4 separate regions of the Homo sapiens genome follow, and all the other regions are linked to region 1. The links are contacts of gene promoters, found by promoter capture Hi-C in human tissues and cell types (Jung and others, 2019). All regions are on one chromosome and are shown on one strand. Each heading gives the region's core, a stretch centred on a gene start or on the middle of the fragment in contact. The rest is flanking DNA. Distances are from core to core; before and after follow the strand shown. Region 1 holds the start of DAAM2 (dishevelled associated activator of morphogenesis 2). Region 2 overlaps KIF6 (kinesin family member 6). Region 3 overlaps KIF6 (kinesin family member 6). Region 4 overlaps KIF6 (kinesin family member 6).

The links. Contacts are between HindIII fragments. The study calls those that stand out against the background at their distance.
Region 2: a fragment that was not itself captured here is called in contact with the fragment with the promoter of DAAM2 in region 1 in 2 of the 25 tissues and cell types used here (bladder and dorsolateral prefrontal cortex).
Region 3: a contact is called between a fragment that was not itself captured here and the fragment with the promoter of DAAM2 in region 1, in 2 of the 25 tissues and cell types used here (dorsolateral prefrontal cortex and mesenchymal stem cells).
Region 4: a fragment that was not itself captured here is called in contact with the fragment with the promoter of DAAM2 in region 1 in 2 of the 25 tissues and cell types used here (hippocampus and mesendoderm cells).

Annotation. Positions count from the first base shown.
Region 1 is chr6:39,790,923-39,794,049 of GRCh38, reverse strand. DAAM2 (dishevelled associated activator of morphogenesis 2) reads right to left here and starts at 1,674. Exons shown (of 25, transcript NM_001201427.2): 1 at 1,585-1,674. The HindIII fragment of the contact is 10,904 bases long and covers 1-3,127 here.
Region 2 is chr6:39,400,511-39,403,637 of GRCh38, reverse strand. The region is part of intron 15 of KIF6 (kinesin family member 6); the gene reads left to right. Among named protein-coding and RNA genes, the nearest start is that of KCNK16, 79 kb to the right of the region's middle. The HindIII fragment of the contact is 3,368 bases long and covers 27-3,127 here.
Region 3 is chr6:39,418,393-39,421,519 of GRCh38, reverse strand. KIF6 (kinesin family member 6) reads left to right here. Exons shown (of 23, transcript NM_145027.6): 15 at 1,517-1,572. Among named protein-coding and RNA genes, the nearest start is that of KCNK16, 97 kb to the right of the region's middle. The HindIII fragment of the contact is 3,152 bases long and covers 1-3,018 here.
Region 4 is chr6:39,499,626-39,502,752 of GRCh38, reverse strand. All of the region lies in intron 13 of KIF6 (kinesin family member 6), which reads left to right. Among named protein-coding and RNA genes, the nearest start is that of KCNK16, 180 kb to the right of the region's middle. The HindIII fragment of the contact is 4,347 bases long and covers 1-3,127 here.

The DNA.
Region 1 (3,127 bases), core at 425-2,924:
GGTTCAATTTATATAATTTCTAAAATCCTTCCTGAATCTTAACTTCCTGTGGGTCTGTTTTTACATCCAGATTTCCTCCCTGTCCCTTCATTTTCTCATTTTTCTAGGACAGAGGGAGAGTCCAGTAATCTTCCTCCCACCCAGACATTGTAGGTTGGCTCTACTGCAAAATACAAAACCAGAGACCTGGCTAGCTCAAAGCTGAAAATTCAGTCTGTCTGTGGTCACTCGTTTGTGGAACCCAGCTATTGACAGGCAGTGCCTGGCACTGTGCTACTCAGGGATGATGGATCGATACAGCCTCACTGCTGCTTTTTTCCCCTACTCTCCGTGGAGCACACTTTCCGCCCTAGGCCCTAGGGAAAATCCATCCCCCGCTTCAGCTGGCTTTGCAAAGAAACTCAGGAAACTAACACCAAACTCAGAAGGGGGAAAACACAAGACTTTGAACTTTTTAAAGATGGGAAGCTGCTTTCATTCCCACGTGGGCATCAAGGGAAAACCTATGGGGACTCTTTTCCGGAGAGGTGTGATTTTCCTCTAACCCTCCGAGAAACGTTCCAAATCCACTCCAAAACTGTGGAGAAGTGGCCGAGGCAGAGAGAGAAGAGTTAAATCAAGCCCAGATCTCAGCAATCTGTGTTCAATTTTGATAAAAATCTCCCTCTCCCCCACCGCCCCCCTTCCTCCACCCCACAGCTCAGACACGTCTCTTTATGTTAGGAGCTTGCATCTTGTTTGGGGCACCACACGCGGCACTCCTGGAGAACCTGGCACGTACCTCACCGTGGCCATGTGGCAGAACCAACCATCCCACTCCCAAGCTACGGCTGGACACAGGGCCACAGCGTCCTGGCCATCACCACCACCTCCCCCTCTTCCTTCTCATCCTCTTCACAAAATTACCTGCCGCCAGACCAAGTCCCTCATTCCCCGGTTAAGTCAGAGTCCCGACGCCTGGTAAAGTCAGGGCATGAGGTTGGTTTGCGACCGCAGGTGCTGAGAGCCCCAGAGTCCGGGGACCCCTTTCCTGAGATGCTCCTTCCCCCGCCCAGGGTCCCACTGCCACTGAGAACAAGAACCTTACGGCTGCCCTGCCCACTGGCCAGAGGCCAGGCCTGCAAGTGGGAGCTGGGGGCTTGTGAAGACTTCAGCCCAGCCAAGTGAAGGTTCAAGCCGAACCCGGAAAAGCCACCACCAAAAAGTTGTCAGTTTTGCGGGGTATCTTCTGTGTTTGTCCACTTGTGACAACCAGGGGTCAGGTTTCAAAGCCGCAAAAAACATTTTTAAAAAGTTTTCCAAAGACATTTCCTATGTCCAGATGTGCCAGTACAGACACACGCAATCACACTCATACACACACACAACTCACACACACACAGGCCCTGGGAGCCCACTCCGGGGTCGGCGGCTCCTGCAAACACTTTGGAGAAACAAAACCGCCAGCCTGCGGAGCTGCTGCCTCCCCAAGCCCCGCGGGGCATGCTAAAGAAAGCAGAGGGAGAGAAGTGTGGGAGCCCAGCGGAGAGGGCTCCCCGCGGCCCGGGCCCCAAGACGGGGAGCGCCAGGGCCGGCCGCACTTACTCCGAGGACCCCAGGGCGCCCGCGCTCCCGCAGCCCGAGGTACGGCGCCGCCGCCCGCGCTCCGCTCGCTGCTGCGTGCTCCGCGCTATCCCCGGGAAGCCGCGGCTGCCGCCCCTCCAGGCCCGGCCTCGCGCCCGTCCGCCCGCCCCGCTCTGACGTCAGGCGTCTTGGAGCGGGATATTTATGGCAAGGTTACTCTGAATTTTCCCTAGGTAGACTTCTGATTGCAGTTTCTTGGGATTTGTAATTTTCACACTTTCAGACCGAACGCAGGCGGGGGGAGAGCGCCACCGGCAGGGCGAGGCGTACAATGAGGGTAGCTGTTCCCCACTTTGGCAGGGAGCGTTCTCAGGGCCCCTTCTGTTTTGGAAACATGGAAGGGTCAAAGAGGCAAAAGTGGCCACCTGGGCAGCGGGTTTCTCCCCGGCTCCTCCTCTGGGCTACGGGCAAATGGCCTGGTCTGAGGCCGGCTCGGAGGTGAAGGTCCCGGTGCCAAGGAATCCCCTGTCCCTCCCCAAAGTGTCCCTGCACTGGACAGTGTGTCCCAAGGGGTGCTGGGCAAGACAGGAGCGAAATCAGGCACAACAGAACAGCTAATTAGGAGTCCTGGTCCACGCCCTAACAACTTTTCCATTTCTTTTTTGGGAGTGTATATATATTTTTTTAAGTTTATTTTTATTAAATTATGTTCCACACTCCCTGCCTCTGTATAGCTTTTCCAATTCAGTGCCAGTCAATTCATCTTACTTCATTGCTTGTATGCATAGTTTGAGCAGTTTACAATAGCTCTTATTCATACTTTTAAAATTTCCTTTTAGTTTTTTTTTTTCTTTTTTTTTTAAATGTGATTGTGGTCTGTCTCCTTGACTGAACTAGAGATTGCTTTGGTCAAGAGCAATTGTCCTCTCTGGGATTGGCAACACCCTCACGGGGAGTATTTGATCTTCTCTGTTTCCTATTTTCCCCAGCTCCCTCTGCAAGCAAATGGTGCCCCCACTGGGTGATGACCTGTATACAGTTTTCTGGGTGTTCAGTGGTTGTTCTGTGTTAGTGGTTGTCTGTTTCTCCACCTCACCAAAGGGGCTTAGGGAAATGGCTTGGTTTAAGGGCCACCCTTCCAGAGAAAAAAAGAGAATGTAATGCATGATCTTCCAGAGGAAAAAAAAAAAAAAAAGAGAATGTAATGTGTTATCCTTCATGGTTCCCAAGGATTGGAGAATGAAATGAACTTAAAATGATACACGTGAGATGCAAAATACTTATATGGTTAGACAACATAAGTGTTTAGGTATTCATCTCACCATGAATGGGAGGGGGCACGGATAATTGCAAATCATCATTAAAACACAACTATAGTGAACTTTCCATTAGCCCAAACTGGTAGAGGCGGGGTTGTGTTTTAACCACAGTTACAGTGCAGCAGGGACTCAAGGACTTGGAATGTGTTTACCTCTTTGGCAGCAGCTGGTTAGAGCTGATTGCCAGAAGGAGCTGTCTTAGGGCTGGGCCTCTCGGTAGAGGCCACGCTGTTTTGACCCAAGCC
Region 2 (3,127 bases), core at 461-2,960, 390 kb after region 1:
ACACACAAACTTGTATGCAGATGTTTGTAAGGGTTCTCTTCATAATTGCCAAAAACTGGTGGTAACCCAAATGTCCTTCAGTGAGTGAGGGGATAGACTTCAATAGAGTGCATACAATAGAACATTACTCAGCAATAAAAAGAGCAGACTGCTGGTAAATAAGACAACATGAGTGACTCTCAAAGGCATTGTGCTGGATGAAAGAAGCCAGTCTCATAAAGCCTCCTACTATCTGATTCCAGCTATATGACATTCTGAAAAAGTGAGAACTTCCACAATGCAGGGCAGGGGTGGGAGAAGGGTGTGAGTCCAACATGGCCTTGTGAGGGAGTCCAGGGGTGACAGAACTCTTGGGGATCCTGCTTTTGAAGGTGGCTACACAAATCTATGTGTGTGTCCAAACCCATGATGCACACACATGCTCCCAAGTCAATTTTACCATATTTAATAATAAATAAAAAATAAAACAGTATGAATCCACCAAGGAAAGAAGACAGGAGGGAATATCAGACAACCCACCTCAGCTTTTATAAAAGAAATGACCTCAGCTGTCATTTTAAAATGAATCTTATGTTGGAGAACAGAATTTTTTTTTTAATTTCTCTAGAAAGAGCACTTTAGGTAATTGGGTATGGGTTGATGATACAGGTTGTGGTGAATTATTTCAGGCTGAACGCAGTAGGAGCTTTTGCCACAGCTTTTCCTCAGTTTGGTCAGGGCAAGTAGGAAATTGAGGGCTTCTACGATGAGGACTTTGGGCAGAAAGCCTTGGTCTCAGGTTTATTCATTCAGTAATTTATGTACATCTGTAAAGTTGGAGGCCCTGTGGAAAACACACAAATCCATAGGAGAGTCCCCAGCCTCAGGATACCTGTAAGGTGGTTGAGAAGATAGGACACAGGAGGCCCTCAGGATTGAGCCTGCAATTACTCTGCAGACTCCCCTTATAAACCACCCAGTGGGGGCTTCTCAGTCAGGCCTCGTTGGTGGAGTAATAGGTCACTACAAATAAGTGCCCTGTAAAAGACTTGGGAACATTTCATCAGAGATAATCATTTGCAGTGCAATTTTCCCTTCTATGGCCAAGCCAGCAAAATTGATGGGTTTCTTAAATGTGCCTCAGGAGATTTTCTGATCTCTGTTCCACTTAAAGACCGTTTGGTTATTTTTTAGTCTGTCTCCACAAAACAGTATTTCATCAGGTTCCGCACAGCCAGAAATGTCTCTCCCTGACTTCCTAAATCACTGCAAGTTTCTGCCGGGCACAGCACGGAGTGAGTAAACAGGCCCATAGACCCAGGATTGAGGACAATTGTTTGCATTGTTCTAGGATGAGTCCTCGAAACGGCTTGAGTCCCTCATGCCCCTGGCACCTCTGCCAGGGTTGGTTGACAGTGCTTTCCATCACAGTAACACATCGTACCTTTTCCATTGCCCCAAGTAGAAGCTGAATTGAAGAGCTTCTGATGTCAGAGCTTCCTATCTGAGGTGTCACTGCAAAAAGGGAAACTGAGGCAGCAAGTGAGGAAAGAGTAGCTCACCTCAGCATGCAGAATGTGAGCCAAAGTCTAAGCAGTCTGCATTCTATTAAAATAGGGTCCATAGAAAACCAAGGGCTGCTACAGTTACTCCTATTTGCCAGGCCAGAAAACAAACCTGACTCCCAAAATACCAGCCAGGCCTATAAGAAATCAGGCAATAGACTAGCTAGAATGTTTCATTTCCTCTGCCTCTTTCTCTGCTAGTTTTGTTGCCAAAGAATTAGGTTTGTTTGTAAGAGACTATATTAACTACAGGCAGTAGTAATATTTTTCAGACAAGGATAATGAAAAACAAGAAATAAGGAACAGGGTAGATGTTGTCAGAGCCCCACCTGCATCCCTTCCACATGCCAGGCATGTGCACACTAGCATGACTTCACCTGCTAGCACTACCCACTCCCCCGAGAGCATTTTTCACCTACTCAAGAGATATATGTGGGGCAGGCTGGTGCTGGGGAATTAAAATCCCCTGCCCCGGGAGGACTCAATCAATGACTGTTGGCAGTTGGTGTATACGTACCCCAGCTCCCTCCCTCTGCAGGAGTGAGAGCTCTGAGGCATGTATCCTCTACAGGCCCCTAGAGTCTCCAAGTGGGATTGAGCTCCAATTGCCCATAGTGGAAAATGGCTTGCCATTGCCCCCTAGATTGGCTGCCTTCCCTCCATGTCTCACTTCCCTTGTCTGTTACCAGTGCTTCCAGGGATCATTTCCCAAATAAACTACTTGTACTAGGGTCTGCTTCCAGGAGAAACCACACTAAGATAGGGGGTATGGGGTGTTACCTCTGAGATAACTCAGATGGTGAAAAGAAGACAGAGGAAAATGGGAGCTGGATTATGCAGGCTTTCTCAACCAAAGTGACTTGAGCAACTGCAGAAAGGCTACTGGCCTCCGGCCACTGTAACAACTTCCTAGAAGTCACTGTCCTCATTGATAATGTTACACTATTAGGAATTAGGGGCACCTATTTGCCATTCAGATACTTATCTCTTCTTCATGTACGTGCAACATCTTAGCTTACCCATTGTTCACCCATTGTATTATCATCATTGGTGATTTCCTAAGATCCAGGTAAAAACCACCAATTCCTCTAAACACTGCCACATTGTTAAAATACCAACCCACAAAGGACTGTTGACGTTAGTCAGCTGACATGTAATCAATCCTTAGAAAACAGATTCCTGTGATTTCTGTGGTACAGAAAATCATTACATCAAGTGTATTGTCTCCAGCAGAAAATATCCTAAGGCCCACAGTAAACTTCTCACCAAAAACTGCATGTCATACACATTCACTCTTCATTGATACCCTTGACTGCAAAGAGAAAAGATTACAAATATCACCGTGGAGAAGGGGTCAGATCTGTTTCCAGTGACAGGCCAGAGTCAAAATCCTGTCGCATGAAGCTGAATGGATTCAGAAGCTTCTCCCCCACAACCCTCTTCCCCTCTCCTTGCCACACACTCACATGACTCCCCCAAAGCAAGAACTATCTCAAGTGGCAGCCTTTGGGGATAGAGAAAAATCTTTAGATTCCTTTATTAATTCCTTGGCCACCTCTCTGGCCTCCCAATGCTGACCAAGT
Region 3 (3,127 bases), core at 193-2,692, 370 kb after region 1:
GCCCTCCTCTGCTCACTTCCTCCAACACAATCCCAGTCAACTAAAGTGTTCAAGGATGAAACAATAGGATATCTGGGATTTGCCGGGATATTAGAGATGGGGAAGTGAGAAGAGAAGAGTGCGGAGGAGGAGGGGAAATAGTTGAAATAAAACTGGACAATTAATAAAATGTGATACTGGGTATGTTAGGGTTCATTCTACTATCCTGTGTATATTTGGAAATTTTCATAATAAAACATTTTCTAAAAACTCCTGTGGATCCACAAAACCCAGGTCACTCCCACCTTGTACATGAAGCTTTCCTGACAGCTCTCCGCTCACTCGTGGACAGGCCACTCCCTAGTCAAACGCTAATGGCATGACTAGCCCCGCCAAGGTACAGCCATTTAATTCAGCTATCTATTAGGTGCTTGCTTTCATAGGCTTTCAATTGTCTCTTTAACTTCATGGCAGAAAGGAGAGGAGGGAAAGCAACTAACATTTCATGAGGGCCCACTATGTATAGGGACTGAACTACATGTTCTCACATAGGCCATGTCCTGTCTGCTTCTCTAGCGCAAAGTTGGCTCATCGTGGGTGTCTCAAACATAGGCCAGAAACATAAAGGAATCACTCACTAAACATTAGCACAGCAATCTAGTAGACTAGCATGAAGCCATCAAAGGTATGCATCTCATAATACAGGGAAGGACTTATGTTACAATGCTAAGTGAAAAAAAAACATCGGGGCACAAAATCATATCTGTATTATGATCCCAACCCTATAAAAACTGGCTCTATAAAAGACGGGGTGGATACGTGTATCCAATGTGCTTATTTCTGGGTAGAGGAGTACTTGAGAATTTTTTTCTTGTTTTTGTATTTTCAAAATCTGGCTTAATAACGGTATATAACAGGAATCAGCAAACTTCTTCTATAAAGGGTGAGGTAGAAAATATTTTCAGCCCTGTAGGCCACGCAGTCTCTGTCACATCTAGTCGACTCTGTCTTGTAGCGTGAAAGCAGCCACAGAAAATGCGTCAGTGAATAGGAGTGGCGGTGTTCCAGGGCAACTTTATTTACAGAAACAGGCAGCAGGCCAGATTTGTCTCATAACCAGCCATAGTTTTACAACCTCTGATATATTATTTTATAATCAGAAAAAAGTTATGTAAGTATATATTCTTTGGTTATAAGATCTTGGTATCATAATCAATAGAACACAGCACAGAAACCTTACAGCCAGGCTTTATTCTGATATCTTTGCATCATGAAATAATATAAATTAAAAGTCATAAATGAGAGACTATGAGAATACAAATTCTGTGCTGGATAGAGTAAAAATTAACAATACCTATAATTAATACCAATTTTCTCTCTATTTTTAAGCCTAATATATTTTACTTATTTAGATTTTTCTTTTGTGTCTTTCAATAAAGTTTCATCATATTTTAGTGACCTCTAAGAAATCTATTATTTTTAAAACATCTTGTAGGATGAACAGAAAAACTACAATTTTCATTTTTTTCCCCTCCAGATTTTCTGAAGCCAAGGCCCTGGGAGAAAGTATAAATGAAGCAAGAAGTAAAATTGGTAAGCAGATGATATTCTGTGAGCCTCTTTCAGAAACCATTTTCCTGGTGAAAATCAGGTCATGATGTGCCTCCAAATGGCCATGAAGCCCCAAATGGCCAGTTTCAGGAGAGCCCCTGCCAAGGAAGCTGCTTTGAGAGCCTTCCCTAGGAAGTGTGTGATCCCTCCCACCACCCAGCAGGAAAAGCACTTTCTTTTGTCTAGAACTTGAACTTTTCATCCTCAGGCAGACCTGAGCTCCAGCATCCCAATCAGAGAGTTGTGCTTTTCCCTGGTGTTTTTCAGCAGTAGCTCAGCTAATCATAACTTCACGGTTACAGTGAGACGTCATTTCGTATTTCAAGTATGGGGAAACACTCTTACACCTCCCAAAGCTTCTGCTTAGCATATTTGGCACAGGTATGATATTTTAGCATCAGTCAATAAGCTGGTGGAAGGATAAGAAGCAAAAACAAGCCATCGTGCCTTCCCAAGGTGGAGGCTGCCACGGAGGGCTCCCCACTTAGGTGAGTACCCCTGCAAAGGTGAAGTTAAGGCAAGAGGCAACTCAGTAAAATGTGCCTCGAATTCTCTTTTTTTTTTTTTTTTTTTTTTGAGACAGAGTCTCACTCTGTTGCCCAGGCTGGAGTGCAGTGGCGTGATCTCAGCTCACTGCAACCTCCACCTCCCAGGTTCAAGTGATTCTCCTGCCTCAGCTTCCCATGTGACTGGGACTATGGGTGCATGCCATCACACCCAGCTAATTTTTGTGATTTTAGTAGAGATGGGGTTTCACCACGTTGGCTAGGCTGGTCTCGAACTCCTGACCTCAAGTGATCCACCCACCTCGGCCTCCCAAAGTGCTGGGACTACAGGTGGTGAGCCACCACACCCAGCCTCAAATCCTTTTAAAAGTAAGAGGACAATGTTTTTTTCATCCCAAACTAAAAGATACCACAGAGACCCATCTCCCAGGCCCAGGGCAGCTTCACAGAGGCGATCCCTGTGCCTCACCTCTGTGCTGGAGAAGGCAGCAGTTACTGGCTCACAGCTGGCCCGCTGGGTCTCTCTTACTACCCCCTTTTCTCCGCCTACAAGTGAGGACAGGACAGAAGCCACTGTGAGTGCCCCCTTTAATTTTTCTAACAGAATATAAAAATCACGATAGCCTCAGTTTGTCTCGGTCGGTAAACAGGAGCCCCACAGTCCCCTCTGTGGCCTGAGACAGAAGGGGCTGAGGCAGCCAGACCCAGAGACACAGCCAACAGCCACACTCAGAATCCTTGTGTCTCAGGAGTTCTTGACCTAAGGTCCAGGATCTTGATAGGAGAGAAATGCCCCTGTATTTCTACTAACCTCTAACTGAAACTTAGCACCACCTCAATGATGAACCCAGTGGAAGTCACAGAGGCCTGCATGTCATATCACAGAGGGGCAGACGTTGTAAAATATCTTTTGTGCTATCAGTACAAAATTACAGTGGTTATTAGACTCACCATTAGATCTTTTTATTTAATACATTTATATAAAAGTACATAGATATTTCTGTATCACAAAAGGTTTTACAATTTTGATA
Region 4 (3,127 bases), core at 248-2,747, 290 kb after region 1:
GCCCTTCTTTGTCTCTTTTGATCTTTGTTGGTTTAAAGTCTGTCTTGTAAGAAACAATGATTGCAACCCTGCTTTTTTTCTGTTTTCCATTTGCTTGGTAAATTTTCCTCCATCCCTTTATTTTGAGCCTGCATGTGTCTTTGCATGTGAGGCAGGTCTCTTGAAGACAGCATAACAATGGGTCTAGGTTTTTTATCCTGCTTGCCATTCCATGTCTTTTAATTGGGGCATTTAGCCCATTTGCACTTAAGGTTAGTATTGTTATGTGTGGATTTGATCCTGTCATCATGATGCTAGCTGTTTATTTCGCAGACTTGTTTATGTGATTGCTTCATAGTGTCACTGGTCTGTGTACTTCAGTGTGTGTGTGTTTTTTTTAGTGGCTGGTAATGGTTTTTCCTTTCCATATTTAGTGCTTCCTTCAGGAGCTCTTGCAATGCAGGTCTTGTGGTACCAAATTCCCTCAGCATTTGCTTGTCTAAAAAGGATCTTATTTCTCCTTCACTTATGAAGCTTAGTTTGGTCAATATGAAATTCTGGTTTGGAAATTCTTTTCTCTAAGAATGTTGAGTATTGGCCCACAATCTCTTCCGGCTTGTAGGGTTACCACTGAGAGATCCACTGTTAGTCTGATGGGCTTCCCTTTGTAGGTGACCTGGCCTTTCTATCTGGCTGCCCTTAACATTTTTTTTCTTTTTTCATTTCAACCTTGGAGAATCTGAAGTTTGTGTCTTGGGGTTGATCTTCTCATGGAGTATCTTACTGGGGTTGTCTTCATTTCCTGAATTTGAATGTTGGCCCATCTTGCTAGGTTGGGGAAGTTCTCCTGGATGATTTCCTGAAGTGTCTTTTCCAACTTGGTTCCATTCTCCCTGTCTCTTTTAGGTATATCAATCAGGCACAGATATTCAGTCACTTCACATAATCCCATATTTCTTGGAGATTTTATTCATTCCTTTTAATTCTTTTTTTCTCCATTCTTGTCTGCCTGTCTTAATCCAGAAGCTAGTCTTCCAGCTCTGAGATTCTTTCCTACACTTGATCTACTCTGCTATTAATACTTGTGATTGCATTATGAAGTTCTTGTAATATGTTTTTCAGCTCTTACAGGTCGGTTATGCTCCTCTCTCTAAATTGGCTATTTTGGCTGTCAGCTCCTGTATTATTTTGTCATGATTCTTAGTGTCTTTGCATTGGACTACAACATGCTTCTTTAACTCAGTAAAGTTCATTATTATCCACATTCTGAAGCCTACTTCTGTCATTTCAGCCATCTCAGCCTCAGCCCAGTTCTGAGCCCTTGCTGGAGAGATGTTGTGGTCATTGGAGGAAAAGGGGCACTGTGGCTTTTTGAGTTTTTAGCATTTTTGTGTTGATTCTTTCTTATCTTTGTGGGCTTATCTACCTTCAGTCTTTGAGGTTGCTGACCTTTGGATAGGGTTTTTGTGATTTGTTGTTATTTTCTGTTTGTTTGTTTGTTTTTCTTTTAACAGCCTGACTATTCTTCATAGGTCTGCTGTGGTTTGCTGGGAGTCTGCTCTAGACCCTGGTTGCCTCAGTTCTTCCCATACCTGGAGGTATCACTGGTGAAGTTGCTTCCTTTGGCTAGGGGTGGGAATTCCCTTGGCTCTGTGTTGCTCCCGAGTAAGCCGTCACCCTTTTCTTCATTCTTCATGGGTCTAGTTGTTTCCCTGATCAGTCCCAATGCAACAACCTAGATATTTCAGTTGAAGGTGCTGTATCCACTCGCCCCTTCCATTCCTCTCCATGAGTTCCGCAAACTGCAGCTGCTTCTAATTGGCCATCTTGCTACATTTCTTATATGCCACTCCCCTCTCTCCCCAAAGGATTTCTGTCCTTCTCAGAACCTGCTTACCTTCTCTGAGGGCTTCCACCTCTCTGCTTCTAAGAGAGCTTCCACCTCTCTGCTTCTCAGAGAGCTTCCACCTCTCTACTTCTGGCTCTCTGCTTCTCTCTTGAACTCCAAACTCCCATTTCTATAGAGATGACCCTATGATAACAACGATGGCATGTGTCAAGTACTTTGTGCCAGGCTTAGTGCTAAATCTTTACTTACATTACCGTTTAACCTTCATAGAACCCTATGAAGTAGTAACATTGTTGTCCTCATTTTGTAGATGAGAGAACCCAGGAGGAGAAAGGTTAAGCAACTTGCCTCAGATTGTAACATTAGTAAGTAGCAAAACCCCCAGGGTGCCTCAATTAGCACCTTTAATAAAATGTGCCTCCAATTTCACGCATTATATTTCCCTAGCTCTTCCTCCTATATTTTCTACCTCAATGAGTGATATCTGCAGTTGTCTAAGTGGGAAAGCTTCACCTAATTTCAGATTCCTTCCCCTAGTCTCCCACAGCTGAATTGCTTATTTATTCTTGCCAGTTCTCCCTCTGGACTCTGGGGACTTTCTTTTCCCGATGTGAAGTGTACCTGTCTTTCCGTTTAATAATTTCTCTCTTGTATTCTTGCAACTGGTTTCTTTGTGTCCATTCTTAACTTCTCCAATCACTTTTCATGCCATTGGCACTGCCTGGATATCCCCCACCCATTCAGTTAACCTTCTATGCCTTCCCATCCCTGACACATTAACGTTTATACTTCAAGTACAGCACAGCGCCAAGCCCTTTCTCTAGCCCCATCTGTGTGCATCCTACTCTGTCTTTCCCTGATGATGGCCACTCCAGATGTCATGCTCCACTTCAAACACACCTCTACACATCATCTCCACCACTCCCTGGGTGGGGTCAGGACCTCACCAGCTACAACTCCCCACCTTCTTTCCCAGGGACCACAGTACATTGCTTATACCTTCCTCTGTTGAGCAGTTACTTTATCCTTTCTTGTGATAGGGAGCTTATATATCTAGCTCACCAACTAAATCATAAGCTCTTTCAGGAAAAGCTGAAACCAATTTTGCTATCTTCAGCTCATCACCACCTACCTTGAAGGTATATGAGGGAGGTTGAAGAGGACAGACGTGGGGATTTATTTGGTAAGTTACTGGTGACCTGTGACTTTCTTACTGATAGCTCAAGGGGGAAGGGAGGATGTGCTTACCCATATTCTCAAGCCAAACATTTTGGTCCTAGGAGGAAAACAGAAGACAGG